3 separate regions of the Homo sapiens genome follow, and all the other regions are linked to region 1. Evidence: promoter capture Hi-C in 16 types of primary human blood cells and fetal thymus (Javierre and others, 2016). All regions are on one chromosome and are shown on one strand. Each heading gives the region's core, a stretch centred on a gene start or on the middle of the fragment in contact. The rest is flanking DNA. Distances are from core to core; before and after follow the strand shown. Region 1 holds the start of PEX39 (peroxisomal biogenesis factor 39). Region 2 overlaps UBR2 (ubiquitin protein ligase E3 component n-recognin 2). Region 3 overlaps UBR2 (ubiquitin protein ligase E3 component n-recognin 2).

The links. Contacts are between HindIII fragments. The CHiCAGO score rates a contact against its expected background, and 5 or more counts as called.
Region 2: a fragment that was not itself captured here is called in contact with the fragment with the promoter of PEX39 in region 1 in 1 of 17 cell types (total CD8 T cells); the score reaches 5.4 in total CD8 T cells.
Region 3: a fragment that was not itself captured here is called in contact with the fragment with the promoter of PEX39 in region 1 in 1 of 17 cell types (total CD8 T cells); the score reaches 5.3 in total CD8 T cells.

The regions. Positions count from the first base shown.
Region 1 is chr6:42,887,726-42,892,854 of GRCh38, reverse strand. PEX39 (peroxisomal biogenesis factor 39) reads left to right here and starts at 2,034. Exons shown (of 1, transcript NM_001008739.2): 1 at 2,034-2,590. The coding sequence starts at 2,067. The coding sequence ends at 2,372. It overlaps RPL7L1 (ribosomal protein L7 like 1), which reads right to left. Exons shown (of 6, transcript NM_001366481.3): 6 at 2,955-5,129. RefSeq lists enhancers at 1,583-1,632, 1,693-2,542. The HindIII fragment of the contact is 5,960 bases long and covers 761-5,129 here.
Region 2 is chr6:42,569,480-42,574,608 of GRCh38, reverse strand. UBR2 (ubiquitin protein ligase E3 component n-recognin 2) reads right to left here. Exons shown (of 47, transcript NM_001363705.2): 2 at 616-875. Among named protein-coding and RNA genes, the nearest start is that of UBR2, 8.0 kb to the right of the region's middle. RefSeq lists enhancers at 1,650-1,699, 1,790-1,849. The HindIII fragment of the contact is 744 bases long and covers 1,633-2,376 here.
Region 3 is chr6:42,630,183-42,635,311 of GRCh38, reverse strand. UBR2 (ubiquitin protein ligase E3 component n-recognin 2) reads right to left here. Exons shown (of 47, transcript NM_001363705.2): 12 at 2,597-2,760; 13 at 2,408-2,507. Among named protein-coding and RNA genes, the nearest start is that of UBR2, 69 kb to the right of the region's middle. The HindIII fragment of the contact is 3,448 bases long and covers 242-3,689 here.

The DNA.
Region 1 (5,129 bases), core at 785-3,284:
TAGCTGGGACTACAGGTGTCCACCACCATGTTCAGCAATTTTTTTTTTTTGTATTTTTTAGTAGAGATGGGGTTTTGCTATATTGCCCAGGCTGGTCTTGAATTCCTGAGTTCAAGCAATCCACCGACCTCAGCCTCCCAAAGTGCTGGGATTAAAGGCATGAGCCACTGTGTCTGGCCTGTATTTATTTTTTATGTCTCCTTTAATCTGGGGTAGTTCTTAGCTTTTTCTTAATGTTTTATAACAACGACATCTGTAAAGTGTCCAGACCAATCATTTTGCAGAATCTCTCTCACTTTGATCTCTATTTCCTCAAGACTAGGTGGTGAGTGAACATTTTTTGGGCATTTTGGGGAGGACTACTACAGAAATGTACTCCCCGTGTGTGTGTCCTTCCCAGTGCATCACATCAGAAGGCACACAAGGCCAGTTTGTCCTATTAAGCTTTTTTTTTTTTTTTTTTTTTGAGACTGAGTCTCACTCTGTTGCCCAGGCTGGAGTGCAGTGGTGTGATCTCATCTCACTGCAACCTCCCTGCCTCCTAGGTTCAAGCAATTCTTCTGCCTCAGCCTCCCAAGTAGGTGGGATTACAGGTGCGCACCACTATGCCTGGCTAATTTTTTTGTATTTTTAGTAGAGATGGGGTTTCGCCATGTTGGCCAGGCTGGTCTCAAACTCCTGATCTCAGGTGACCTGCCCACCTCAGCCTCCCAAAGTGCTGGGATTACAGGTGTGAGCCACCACGCCTGGCCATTAAGCTTTGATTCTTTGATTAAGGTGATGTTCACCAGATCAGTCTAGCTTTTGATACTTTTTTTTTTTTTTTTTGAGACAGAGTTTTGCTGTGTCACCGAGGGTAGAGTGCAGTGCTGCAATCTCAGCTCACTGCAACTTCTGCCTCCCAGGTTCAAGCGATTCTCCTGCCTCAGCCTCCTGAGTAGCTGGGATTACAGGTGCATGCCACCACACCCAGCTAATTTTTGTATTTTTAGTAGAGACGGGGGTTGCCCCATGTTGGTCAGGCTGGTCTCAAACTCCTGACCTTGAGATCCACCTGCCTCCACCTCCCAAAGTGCTGGGATTACAAGTGTGAGCCACCGTGCCCGGCCACTTTTGATAATTTAAAAACCTGACTTTCCGAGCAGTCAGAGCAGCTGTAGCACATCTGACCTGCTTTCACCTTCGATCTTCTCTGGGACCACCAAGAATTGAAGGATGGCAGGAAGTGTGAAGAAAGTGGTGAGGCTCTGGCTGGGTGCGGTGGCTCACACCTGTAATCCCCGCACTTTGGAAAGCTGAGGCGGGTGCATCACTTAAGGTCAGGAGTTCGAGACTAGCCTAGCCAACATGGTGAAACCCTGTTTCTACTAAAAATACAAAAATTAGCTGGGCTTGGTGGCATACACCAGCTACTAGGGAGGCTGAGGCACTAGGGACCCTGTGGATCGCTTGAACCAGGAGGCGGAGGTTGCAGTGCGCTGAGATCGCATCGCTGCACTCCGGCCTGGGCAACAGAGTGAGACTCCGTCTAAAACAACACAAAACAATAATAACAACTAAGAGAGTAGCGTGGCTTGGTGGCGGTGTCACTCCTGAGGCCTCTGGGAACAACTCTACAGTTATGCTTTGTCCCGTGCTGCGGAGCCTAGTATGGGGATTATCCCCCGCCATGCGTTGTATCTGAATCCTTGTACGCGCGCCCGGGGGTGTGCATGAAAATGGGCATGTGCGCGGTGCTTATGTATGTATGGGTCTTTTTGCCCGCAGCGGCGCGTCCGCAGGCTTGTTCTGTCCTGTGCTAGCCTTCAAGTTTTGGCACGTCCGTCCGTTTTTCTTCTTTGGCGCGTCCGTTGGGCACTCTGGGTTTGGCTAAATCGTGGACGCTTCTAAAGCGTTTCTGCAGGGAGCTGGTCAGAGTTGTCAAGTGCTCCCCCAGTTCTGGGCCGGCTTGGTACGGTCTACAGCCTCCCTTTCCTTTCCCCACCTCCCCCATGGTGGTTGCACCCATTCGGCCCGGAAGTGCTCGCTTCTCTGCATTACACGCCGGTCAGGATTCGCGACCCGACATGGAGCGTCCCCGCAGTCCCCAATGCTCGGCCCCGGCCTCTGCCTCAGCTTCGGTTACCCTGGCGCAGCTCCTGCAGCTGGTCCAGCAGGGCCAGGAACTCCCGGGCCTGGAGAAACGCCACATCGCGGCGATCCACGGCGAACCCACAGCGTCCCGGCTGCCGCGGAGGCCCAAGCCCTGGGAGGCCGCGGCTTTGGCTGAGTCCCTTCCCCCTCCGACCCTCAGGATAGGAACGGCCCCGGCGGAGCCTGGCTTGGTTGAGGCAGCGACTGCGCCTTCTTCATGGCATACAGTGGGCCCCTGAGGTTCCAGGTCCTTTGCGGCGGCGATCTGGAGGGCGTGGCTACAGGACCCGGGATGCCATTCAGTTACTCATCTTTTATGCTTTCGTCCTGACCTGTCTCAACTAGACTTGCTCCTGCAACCACCATGGGGGTTTTGCATTTACATTTGTGGACCATGTTACAGTTAAGAAAAATCCTGTTTCAGTCCTTATATGTAATAAAATGTTTTATGATGTAACTTGGCCCCAGAATGATTTTGAAGATACATTAAAGGAAAGCCCAAAGCATTTAAAAAAGCCAACCAAGAAAGACTAAAATCTTGGCTCTTGGAATCAGCTGGATCAGGCAAGGGGCTAGAGAATTAGAGCATTAGAAAGGCTCCCACAGCCACCCTGAAATCAGTCCTTTTATGTTAAGCAGGCCACCTGGCTCAGTGCCTACATACTCAACACTAGATTTTACTTTCTCTACAAAAGCTAGAATGTACCTGGTACGTGCTGACATGACCCTAACCCACAGACGATGTAACAGGTCTACCTTTTCTCAGAAAGGATTGTCTCACAACTTGTTCAACGAATTAGTTATGTCATGGTACATACATATAAGTGCGCAATTTTTGTAACATCTTTTATTTGTATACAATTATAAATTACAAACTTGTTTTATTAGGTTTTTTAAAATTTATTTTTCGTCAACTTAGTCCCTTTTATTTACCAGCAGTTTGCTCTGACAGAATAAATTACAAACTATTGTTTTGTTTAATCCCTTTAACCATCATGTCAGGCACACAGGTTGGAGAATATTAGCTCCCATTTTATGGACAGAGTGGAAACACTGTACCCATATTTAGTGTAAGACAGAGCTGGGATATAAGCCTTGGGCTTCCATAGTCACAACTGCTTTTTTGCATAACTTTGTAATACATCATTTTAAAGTAATCTGATTTCACAATGTTTTACAGTATAGGAGTAACATCTATAGCATCTCTTCTTGGCAGGTTACCTCTGGAGAGAACCAATCTAATTACCTCATACGCTGGCACTTTTTTTTTTTTTTTTTTTGAGACAGAGTTTTGCTTTTGTTGCCCAAGGTGGAGTGCAATGGTGTGATCTCGGCTCACTGCAACCTCTGCCTCCCTGGGTTCAAGCAATTCTCTTGCCTCAGCCTCCCAAGTAGCTGGGATTACAGGCATGCACCACCACATCCGGCTAATTTTGTATTTTCAGTAGGGACAGAATTTCTCCATGTTGGTCAGGCTGGTCTCGAACTCCTGACCTCAAGTGATCTGCCTGCCTCAGCCTCCTGAAGTGTTGAGATTACAGGTGTGAGCCACCGTGCCCAGCCTAAGCTGGCATGTTTTAAGGCAGTTACATCTCTAACTTGATTTACCAGCTATGCTTGAGGGTCCAAGGAGCCAAAATTGCAGCCAAACTGATCTTAAAGGACCAGGGAATAGAATGGTCAAGCATGTTTCCAAGTTTAACCTAGGCCTGGCACATCCTTGCCAATTGCTCAGATGGCAAGTGAGGGGCAACTAAGTGAAGAGAATAGCAGGAAGACCCACTTGGGGTGGACACTGATGAAAAACACAAGCAGTATCAGACTCACTGTTTTCAGGATTAAAATCCCCAGATGCCCTGTTATTGGTCTATGTCACTACCAGTAGGACAAAAGGCAATGCTTCTGAAGACTAGAATATGCAAGGAAAAAATTAAGGTGCCTGCCTGCCTGGGGCCTAACGAGCCAAACAGTGCTAATTTCATCCATGCCAAACAAAATTGTTCATTCCTTGCTGATTTGGGTTTTAAGGAACCATGCTGATCATCAGAGAAACCAGGCAATTCTATTCTGAAGCCCAGGGGAAGAAATGGTGGGGATTTCTGAGTTACAGATGGTGCAGGGGTTAACACTATCTGCCACTATGAAGGGAAAAATCTATCTTGGTAAACTTTGGTCTTCCATAGGACATGGAACCAGAGTAGCAAGATCAGGGCCTGCGTGACCGATCCTGATTGAGCAGGACTTCCTCACATAAGGTACACAAGAGCTGGGCGCAGTTGCTCATGCCTGTAATCCCAGCACTTTGGGAGGCCCAGGCTTGTGGATCACTTGAGGTCAGGAGTTTGAGACTAGCCTGGCCTACATGGTGAAACTCTGTCTCCATCTCTACTAAAAATACAAGAATTAGCTGGGTGTGGTGGTACATGCATGTAATCCCAGCTGATCAAGGGGCTGAGGCAGAATCACTTGAACCCAGGAGGTGGAGGCTGCAATGAGCTGAGATCATGCCACTGCGCTCCAGCCTGGGCAACAGGGTGAGACTGTCTCAAAGAGAAAAACAAAACCCATAAGATGCACAGGTATCTGAGAAGGGTCTAAACACCCTAGAACTGCAAGCAAAATTTTGAGTGTATACATGTTTTCCTGGCGAAGGGGTCCTCATTCTCAAATCCTGAGCTTTTAGGAAAAAGTACTAAGCCAGTTTCAGGTTACGATACAAAAGCCACCAGATACACTTAGAGCCAGTCAAGTTTGAGAATTCTCAAAGCCATCACTGAAAAGTTGGAACACATACTCACAGCAGAGACAAGTGAACATTTATTTTTATGCCTTTCTTCCTATGTGTATTTCAAGTCTTTTTCAAAACAAGGCCCCAGGACTCTCCAGATTCAATTATGTCCTTGGGCTTGGTCGACTGCTGCAGGAGTCTCAGGGAGCCTTCTACAAATGCTAGAGTGACTCATTTACCAACATTAAACCCTAGGATACATGCAACA
Region 2 (5,129 bases), core at 755-3,254, 320 kb after region 1:
TTCTCCATCTTCTACCCTTGTATACTCAATTTTCACCAAGAAATTTAAAAAAGAAAAGTCTTCCTAACAGCAGTAAATGCATACAGCACCCAGATCTTGGTTTCTAACTACCATTCCCAAATGAAAGAAAAATCTTTAAAGAAATAGCTGATTGTACATACGGGTCAGAGCAAGTACAAAGTGAGCTGGGGCATCTTGTGCCAGAAAGGAAAGAAGCACCCACAAACTAATGAAGGCATGTGAAAAAGACAAGATGGTGTGACGGGGCTCTCACTAGCCAAATCTATGGCAATTTGAACATCAGAATTACTGTAACTAAAAAATATCAAGAAAAGCAAGAAAGTGATTATTGCAAGAGTCAAGATGTCAGTTAATTATGGGGGAAGGAAGAAAGCACACAGTGGGCTTCAAGAATGCTGGTGACAATTTTTTTTGATCAAGAATAATTACAAAAATGTTTGCTTTAATTATTTATTAAATAGCATGTATTTGTAATACAGATTTTTAAGCAGATATGGTATTTCATAATTTTTAAACAAAAACTCAAAAGTTCCAGGGAAAAAAAGAGGTCAAATAAAACAAGAGCCTCCTAGAAAGAAAATTAAAATATTTTACCTGCAAGAATATGTAGGCTCTCCTACTTTAAAAACACGACCACAAAGATGAGAAGGTTTGTTTGCTTGCTCAAGTTTTGGAAATCCAAATGCAGGATCTTCACCACAAAGGTACCATTCCATTGGTCCCAACAAAACATGCTGTGCCAGCATGTCTTCTTTCTGTGGAAAAGGGTTGGGACCCCTGCAGTAGATTTTGGGTACATAGTGGGCTAAATGCTGGTACACTTCTCTAGTGAGGTCAGTTGCTTGCAGCCATTTCTTTAAAAGAAGAAAAGAGAAGAAATGGTTTTAAACACCAACAAACTAATTTGAACAAATTCACCCTACTTTCTTTTAGGTACAAAAATAATGACAAAAGCATATTAAAATATTTTGTTTACAACACTCACCACCGTACGTTAGAAATTTAATCTATTAAAATGCCAAGTATGTTTAAATCCTACTTTTAAGTGTAAGTAAAATTAAAATGAAACAAGCCTCCCTCCTTCCCTGCAAAATGACTCTTGAAGCAATCTTCTCTAGGCAGTACCAGAAAATAATTACAAGAAATCATTATATAAGATATGAACCATTGAGCTCACCTAATGTCCTTCCTAATGCTTTGCTCAAATGTTATTCTCATTGTGATATCAATTCTCACGTCAGTTTGTCCATAGGAAGAGTGTACGGTGAATATGAACAGCCAATATGTACGGTGAACATGAACAGCCAATACACATTTCTTAATGATTGATAAGCAAGTTTATATACCAGTCTCTTATTGAATAAGTCAGTCCACAAGAGACTGTTGTACCAATTATGCCTTCTTTCTCTGATCAACTTCTCTCTCTCTATAAGGCCTTTTCCGTTTGCTCTCCCCACTAAAAACAAATTTTAAAGCATGATTCTACTTAGATCTCATAGGTACCAACTCAATAACTGAATGCATGATCTCCCCTCCATGCTCCACCAAAATCTGTTATTTTCTCCATTTCCAGCTCAACCTGGGTATCCACACCGAAAAATCTGAAAAGCTTCCCAGCACTTTGGGAGGCCAGGCCAAGCAGATCACCTGAGGTCAGGAGTTCAAGACCAGCCTGGCCAACATGGTGAAGTCTCTTCTCTACTAAAAATATAAAAATTAGCTGGATGTGGTGGCGCATGCCTGTAATCACAGTTACTCAAGAGGCTGAGGCAGGAGAAATCGCTTAAACCCAGGAGGCAGAGGTTGTAGTGAGCCAAGATCCAGCCTGGGCGACAGAGCAAGAGTCTGTCTCAAAGGACAAAAAAAAAAAAAGACTCACTTCTGCTAGAATGCAGTTAACTGAACCGTGAACAAAACCCACAGATGGAGGGAAAGAGGAAGGGGAAGTGAGTTGAAAAACTACCTATTGGGTACTATGCTCACTACCCAGGTGCAATATACTCATGTAACAAACCTGCACATGTATTCCTTAAATCTAAAGTAAAAGCTGAAATTAAAAAAAACCTCCAATGTTTACCTATGGATTACTACCTAATTCCAGTTACATTTTTATTTAAAAAAAAAAAAAAAGTATGTTCAAGTGATATGTAACATCATAAGAAGTCAACATAAGGTCTTCATTTTAGCTATTACTTGTATATTCTTCAGACCACTCCTTCTAAAAACAACATACAGAGAGATTTTAAATATGCATGAGGTGATGTATATTAACTTTCTAGTCAATTTCTGTTTTCAGAGAACTTTTACTAAAAATGTAAAAATTTTGTTCATAAGTTAAGGGACTGGATAGAAGCTTATAACCAAAAACGGTGAAAGAGTTTTCATGCTTAAAGTGAAACTAAACTATTTTCCAAATATTACTAACATTGTTGTGTTTACATTATGCAAGTAGGAAAGAGACTAAATTACTTTCAAAACAACAGCATTTCTTCCCTGGTGGCCAAGTGGTTAGGGAAAAAAAAATAAAAATAAAAATAAAACAGCAGCAGCAGCATCATTTCTTAGGAGACAATCCTACAGGCTTTAAGTATTCTCTCCCTTCAGAGTGACTCAATCAAAATTTTATATATACATACACATCCTTTAAGCTCAGTAATTATAAAGAGGACAAGTTTTAAAAAAAGAAAAAGAGTCCTCAACAAGCATACTAGAATCTTATTCTTTGAGCTAAAAGACCTCGTTTTGGCCTCATTCAAAGGTAAATGTCTCATTTTTCACCCATTGTCAGCAAACCAAAACAAGAATGAAGGTAGTCAAATGATCCTAAGCGCTTTTTTTTTTTTTTTTTTTTGAGTCTCGTGCTGTCGCCCAGGCTGGAGTGCAGTGGTACGATCTCGGCTCACTGCAACCTCTGCCTCCCAGGTTCAAGTGATTCTCCTGCCTCAGCCTCCTGAGTAGCTGGGGTTACAGGTGTGCACCACCACACGCGGCTAATTTTTGTATTTTTAGTAGAGACAAGGTTTCACTATGTTGACCAGGCTTGTCTCAAACTCCTGACATCAGGTGATCTGCCCACCTCGGCCTCCCAAAGGTGCTAGGATTCAATTTACTCTTTATGAAAGAAAAATTAAGCAATAAGACCAAAATAATTCACCTCCATGATCCTAGAAAGTTAAGTGCTTCGGACTTTTTTTTACAACATATTGAAAGATTTTATTTAAAAACCAGTTTTTTTCCTTATATTTTATGTTCCCATTCCTGTAAAACTTCACTGTTGCAAAATTTTAATACAAGAATGAAAGGTTACTTTAGAAGGGATGCTTTTTTTTTTTTTTTTTTTTTTTTGAGACGGAGTCTTGCTCTGTCACCCAGGCTGGAGTGCAGTGGCGCGATCTCGGCTCACTGAAAGCTCCGCCTCCCAGGTTCACGCCATTCTCCTGCCTCAGCCTCCCAAGTAGCTGGGACTACAGGCTAGCATGGATGCTTTCTAAAAAAAAATTATGCAGTCTAGTAACTGTAACGAGAGCAAATTTGTTCATAGATTTCTTCAACAAAAATTCAGACGCTAGTATCAGCTTCTGGTTAAGAAAAAAAAAAAAAATCGGCCAGGCTCTTTGGCTCATGCCTGTAATCCCAGCACTTGGGAGGCCAAGGCGGGTGGCTCATTTGAGTTCAGAGGTTCGAGTCTAGCTTGGGCAATATGGCAAAACCCTGTCTCTTCTAAAAATAAAAGAAGATTAGCTGGGCATGGTGGTGCATGCCTGTAGTCCCAGCTACTCAGGAGGCTGAGGTGGGAGGATCACCTGAGCCCCGGAGGTTGAGGCTTCAGTGAGGCATGATCACGCCACTGCACTTCAGCCTGGGTGACAGAGTGAGATCCTGTCTCAAAAAACAAACAAACAACAAAAAAAAAACTAGCCACTTTACATAAAAATATTATTAGTAAAACAAGCAAGTATTTCACTCTTTATTACATATTATTATAAATAACAAGACTTAAAAGTCTGGTCCAAGAAAGGCATGCATATGCTCCCCATTTTTCAAATCTTTACTACTCCTGGGCACAGTGGCTCACGCCTATAATCCCAGCACTTTGGGAGGCCAAGGTGGGCAGATCACTTGAGGCCAGGAGTTCGAGACCACCATGGCCAACATGGTGAAACCCCATCTCTACTAAAAATACAAAAATTAGCCAGGAGTGGTGGTGCACGCCTGTAATCCCAGCTACTTGGGAGGCTGAGGCAAAAGAATCGCTTGACCTCAGGAGGTGGAGGTTGCAGTGAGCCTAGATCACGCCACTGTACTCCAGCCTGGAGGACAGAGTGAGACTCCGTCTCAAAACCAAAAACTTTACTACCATTATATGAAAAAATCACAATCACCTAAAAGATTTGGGCTCTATTACAGGCACTTTAAGCTGATTAAACATACATACTTAATATAAAAAGCAAGAAAAATTTATGACTGTCTTTCAGAAGTAGCTCACACATTTCCCCAAAGAATAAAATCTATAGCTTTTCATATTAGTTCTAACATATGCTAACTGCAACTGTTTCTTCAACATGAAAAATTAAGATTTCCAGTTTGGTTGGCCTTTTGTCTTTATTTCAGACACTTGTAGCTGTCACACCCATGTGGCATAAGAGAGTAATAAGCATTCACTATCTTACTACAAGTCCCTCTTAAGGGAAGTAAAGAAACTGTCAACTCATTCCTCTAAAGTAAACATGTTATGACAATGTTTCCAGGAGCTTTCCCTCTATTAAATACTAAATTTAAGCCTTGGGATAGAAAGCAAGTACAATAAAATAAAAATGAAATGAAAAATGAAAGAATCCCTAGAGGTTAGTTAGCCTTTTATTACAGTCTCTATTATTCTATACCCAATTAAAATTGTATCCTTTAACTACTTTTGGTTTTGCTTTCAAACAAGGATAAGCAACATGTAAGTTAATCATAAAACAACTAGTGCTCATAACCATAAAAACAATAGTGTTTAAGTGGGAGTTTTAGGGAATATATTGAGAAAAATTTTAAACAAATTATATTAAGAGCTCTACAAATTAAGGAGAATATTTACAAATAAAATATAGAAATTTAATAGGTCA
Region 3 (5,129 bases), core at 716-3,215, 260 kb after region 1:
AGAAGGTATAAGTTTTAACAGGAAACTTCAAGTACTATGAGAAATAATAGCTTTTAAAATTATGTGTTTATATAACATTCTCTAAAATATAAATTTAGAAATCCCAATAAACACATTATTTCAGAGGTATCATCTAAGATCTGTTTTAGGCAATAAAATACTTCAATATTTCACTGCAATAATCCTTCCTTTTTAGCTCTATGGTCTATAGAAAAAATTGTTAAAAGAAATGTGACAAGCTTTTAAAATGTTATTGAATTTATAACTGTATTTTATAATAAAGTTTTAATATTATGTCCTAATATGCAATTAGAAGTTTTCACAGAGCCTGAAAGAAGGCAAAACAATAAATAGCTTTTAATTAAAATTACTGTTCAGAAACTAGCCTAACTATTCTAGTATGTCAGAACTTATTAAACAATAGAGAATACAGAATACTTCAAGTATCAAAAATGACCAAAGTAGCTATTGTTTTCACAGATACATGAAAAACATAGTAGTATTATAATAAACACCCATGAACTACCACCCAACCTAGGAACTAGAATGGTAAGTCAGGCCAGACATGGTGGCCCACGCCTGTAATCCCAGCACTTTGGGAGGCCGAGGCGGGTGGATCACTTGAGGTCAGGAATTCAAGACCAGCCTGGCCAACATGGCGAAACCCTGTCTCTACTAACAATACAAAAATGAGCTAGGTGTGGTGGCGTGCACCTGTAATCCCAGCTACTCGGGAGGCTGAGGCAGAAGAATTGCTTGAACCTGGGAGGCAGAGGTTGCAGTGAGCCAAGATCGCGCCACTGCACTCCCGCCTGGGCGATAGAGCAAACCTCCACCTCCAAAATAAATAAATAAATAAAAATAAATTCAAACAAATAAAAATAAAAATGGTAAGTCAACTTTGGTCATTCCTTTTCTTAAGAAAGCCAGGTGGCTACTAAAGAAATCATAATAGTACTTGCTCAGATTTTTAGAGACGTCACCTATCTTCTTACAGTTATAACTGGTTAAATATACCTGTTCGTTTCTACTTCTAGATTCTGTTTTGTATATAGGGATGTTTCCTAAAAAGAGAATTAAACAGGGGAAAAAGGTCTACACTGTATTATATAAATACCACATGAAGGAGAGAAAAAGAAACATGGAAACATTAAAAAGCAAAATCAAAAACCACTACAGTTTCTCAAATAACTTGACTATACTTCCAAGAAAGCATATTAAAAAAATAAACTTGTAACCTCTAAAGAAAGAACATTAGTGGAAACCAAAGAAATATAAAAGTGGCTGGCGCAGTGGCTCATGCCTGTAATCCCAGCACATTGGGAGGCCGAGGTGGGCGGATCACTTGAGGTCAGCAGTTTGAAATCAGCCTGGACAACTTGGTGAAACCTCGTCTCTACTAAAAATACAAAAAATAGCCAGGCATGGTGGCAGGTGCCTGTAATCCCAGCTACTCAAAAAGCTGAGGTCAGAGAATCACTTGAACCCAGGAGGCGGAGGTTGCAGTGAGCCAGGATTGTGCCATTGTACTCCAGCCTGGGCAACAGAGTGAAAAACTATGTCTCAAACAAAACAAAACAAAACAAAACAAAAAACAAACAAAAAAACAACCCCAAAAACTGGCCAGGTGCGGTGGCTCATGCCGGTAATCCCAGCACTCTGGGAGGTTGAGGTGGGTGGATCACTTGAGGTCAGGAGTTCGAGACCAGCCTGGACAACTTGGTGAAACCCTATCTCTATTAAAAATACAAAAAATTAGCTGGTGTGGTGGTGTATACCTGTAATTCCAGCTGTTTGAGAGGCTGAGGCAGGATATTCACTTGAACTCTGGAGGTGGAGATTGCAGTGAGCTGAGATTGCGCCACTGCACTCCAGCCTGGGCGACAGAGTGAGACTCCATCTCATAAACAAAACAAAACAAAAAAAACCAACACAGAAAAAACCCAAGAGCAGTAGATGCCGGAATGTTTGCTGGGATCTCCTTTGCTCCATACCTTTCTAAGAATTTCCAATTAAAGAGGAGCTTCCTGGTCAGAATTGCAGCCATCCAAATTGATCTTTTGGAAATGTGCACGAAATGAAAAGATGCGCAGACAGAAAGCTGTTCATTTCAATGAACAACAACAACAACAACAACAACAACAACAAAGAAGCTGGGCCTGGGCCCGTGCCTGCGCCTCTAGTCCCAGGCAACTTTGGAGGCTGAGGCAGGAGAACTGCCAGAGACCAGGAGTTCAAAGGTATAGTACACTATGGTTGTGTCTATGACTAGCCACTACACTCCACCCTGGGCAACACAGTGAGACCCCCATCTCTTAAAAAGAAAAAGAAAAATTAAAAAAAAAAAAAAAAAGAGAAAAGAGAAAAAAAAAAAAGGAAAAAGAAAAGTGTAACAGTTTTTACATACCTGCATACATTTTAGTAATTCCAAAAAGGCATCAAACCCTTCTAGGAACTTCTGCCTCAGCTCATCTGACCATTCAGTTGGTTTGCTAATTAACACATACCTGAACAAGATAAAAGTGACAGTGGCAATTAACATAAACATTGACTTTCTATAAATTGCAACTGGTTTAATAATTAAATGAAAACTTACTTGAGATCTAAAATAAGGCTCTGTACTCTCCTAAATTTGAAGGCTTGTAAAGCAGTGTATCGTTCAAACTGAAATCTGCCCTGGGCATCTCGATGTCTCAAATGATCCATAAAAGTCTTAATGATAATGCTCATTAAGTTTTCTTCTGTGATGAGCATTCGAGCCTAAAAACAAAGTTTATCAGAGTGCATGGTAATCAAAAACTATGTACTAGGAAGACTAAAAAAAAAGTCACCAACATTGTTTAGCTCCTTCAGTTTAAACCTTTTTCAACACAACTATATATCATAAATGCATTACTGTGTATTTCTAAATAACAATTACTTACTCCAATTGCCATGTGTATGAAGCAACAATTATACCAGATGCCAGAAAGATGCCAGAATGTTAGAAGACAGTTCCAAGGCTCATTACTCAAAGATAAATTCAGGGTGGGGGCTCTGAATCAGGCTGCAAATTTTCCTTAACTGAGACATTTAGACACCTATAATGGTATGGTATAGTTATTCTAGGATCCAGAGGTTTACGACACAGATTCTCTAGAACTCAGTATGAAACAATATTTTCTCTTTATTTCCTTAGTTGAGATTTATTTTTTGTTTGTGTGTGTGTGCATGTGTGTACATATATATATATATATATATATTTTTTTTTTTTTTAAATAAGCAAATACATGTAAATCATACTAAATGCAACAGGGAGTCTCCTAGCTCCTGAGGTCTTCTTTCTAAAGGCAAATCTTGTTAATCGTAGTTCCTTGCATATTCTTGCAGAGATGGTATATGTATGTGTATTTTATATATATATAATTACAGAACCTGTATTTATATATATATATATATATATATATATATAAAATCAGAGTATATACTACATAATACACACACATATATAAAATGTATAAATACATAAAGTGTGTATTAAGTATACACAAGTATGTATATCTATCTTTTTCCTACAAAAGATAGCATATTATATTGTTTTGTACATTTTTTTACTTGATATGGGACAATGTCCCATATCAGTTCATACAAATGCTCGTCATTCTTTTTAACCAGGTCTACTTTTGTATCAGATTTTATTTAGCCAAGCTTTTACTGGTCAGACATTTGGGTTGTTTCCAGTTTTATGCTATTAAAAAAGATGTTGCAACAAATATCCACTGTGTATAGTTGTAGGAATATTTATAGAGTAATTTCCTAAAAGTGGAAGTAATCGGTTAAAGAGTATGCACATAATAAATTTTAATGATATCACCAAATTGTTTCCACAAAGAGGCTCAACAATTTCTCTTTCTACCTACAATGTGGGCCATGCCCTCTCATGCCCTCCATAACACAATATAACTTCAAACATTTTGCTCTTTGCCATTTTGATGGTGTTAATCTCTGCCCTAATAGAGTCAGAAAGTCTAATGTTACTTTGAATACTTCATTTTGCACTCTGATACAAAAGATCATGGATCCTCACCCTGACATTTTCCAGCCTCAACAGCTAATCTCTCCTAGGATTCTAGAGTGTTATTGATGCTGGGTGACAACTTAAACAGGCCTCGCATAAGTCAAGATTAGGTAATTAGCAACAGAAAAAGTTTCATCAAAACGTAGAACAAGGCCAGGTGCAGTAGCTCACGTCTGTAACGCCAGCACTTTGGGAGGCTGAGGCAGGCGGATTATTTGAGCCCAGTTCGAGACCAGCCTGGGCAACACAGTGAAACCCTGTCTCTATAAAAAATAAAACAATTAGCTGGGTGTGGTGGCATGTACCTGTATTCCCAGCTACCTGGGAGGCTGAGGTGGGAAAATCACCTGAGCCTGGGAGGTCAAGGCTGCAGTGAGCCATGATCACGCCACTCCAGCCTGGGCGACAGAGTGAGACCCTGTCTTAAAAACAAAAAACAAAAAAACCCCAAATAAGCAGAAACAAAAATGCAGAAGACAGAAGTCTAAGAATATATTAAAACTGTATTCTAATATAGATGTTAAATTCTAAAGTCAGCAGATAAGTAGAAAATCTGTAAATATAAAACTGAGTTTGAAAACTTCAGGACTTAAAGCAGGCAGTAAGAGGAAGTTTGGTGGAGAGACGATATTGTTAGAATGTAAACCCCCACCAAACCAAGGCACTTACTAGCATTTTTAGTTTCAGGTGAATGTTAACAGAGATGGTTCACATACTGCACAATTTTGGATTAGATTCTAATTGTCTTTAGGGGTATCAAAAAAAAAAAATAGGCTGGGTGCAGTGGCTTATGCCTGTTATCCCAGCAAGGGAGGCCGAGGTGGGTGGATCACCTAAGGTCAGGAGTTCGAGACTAGCTTGGCCAACATGGTGAAACCATATCTCTACTAAAAAACACAAAAATTAGCTGGGCGTGGTGGTGGGCTCCTGTAATCCCAGCTACTCGGGAGGCTGAGACAGGAGAACCGCTTGAACTCAGGAGGCAGAGGTTGCAGTGAACCGAGATCATGCCATTGCACTCCAGCCTAGGCGACAGAGCAAGACTCTCTCAATTAAAAAAAAAAAAAAAGTA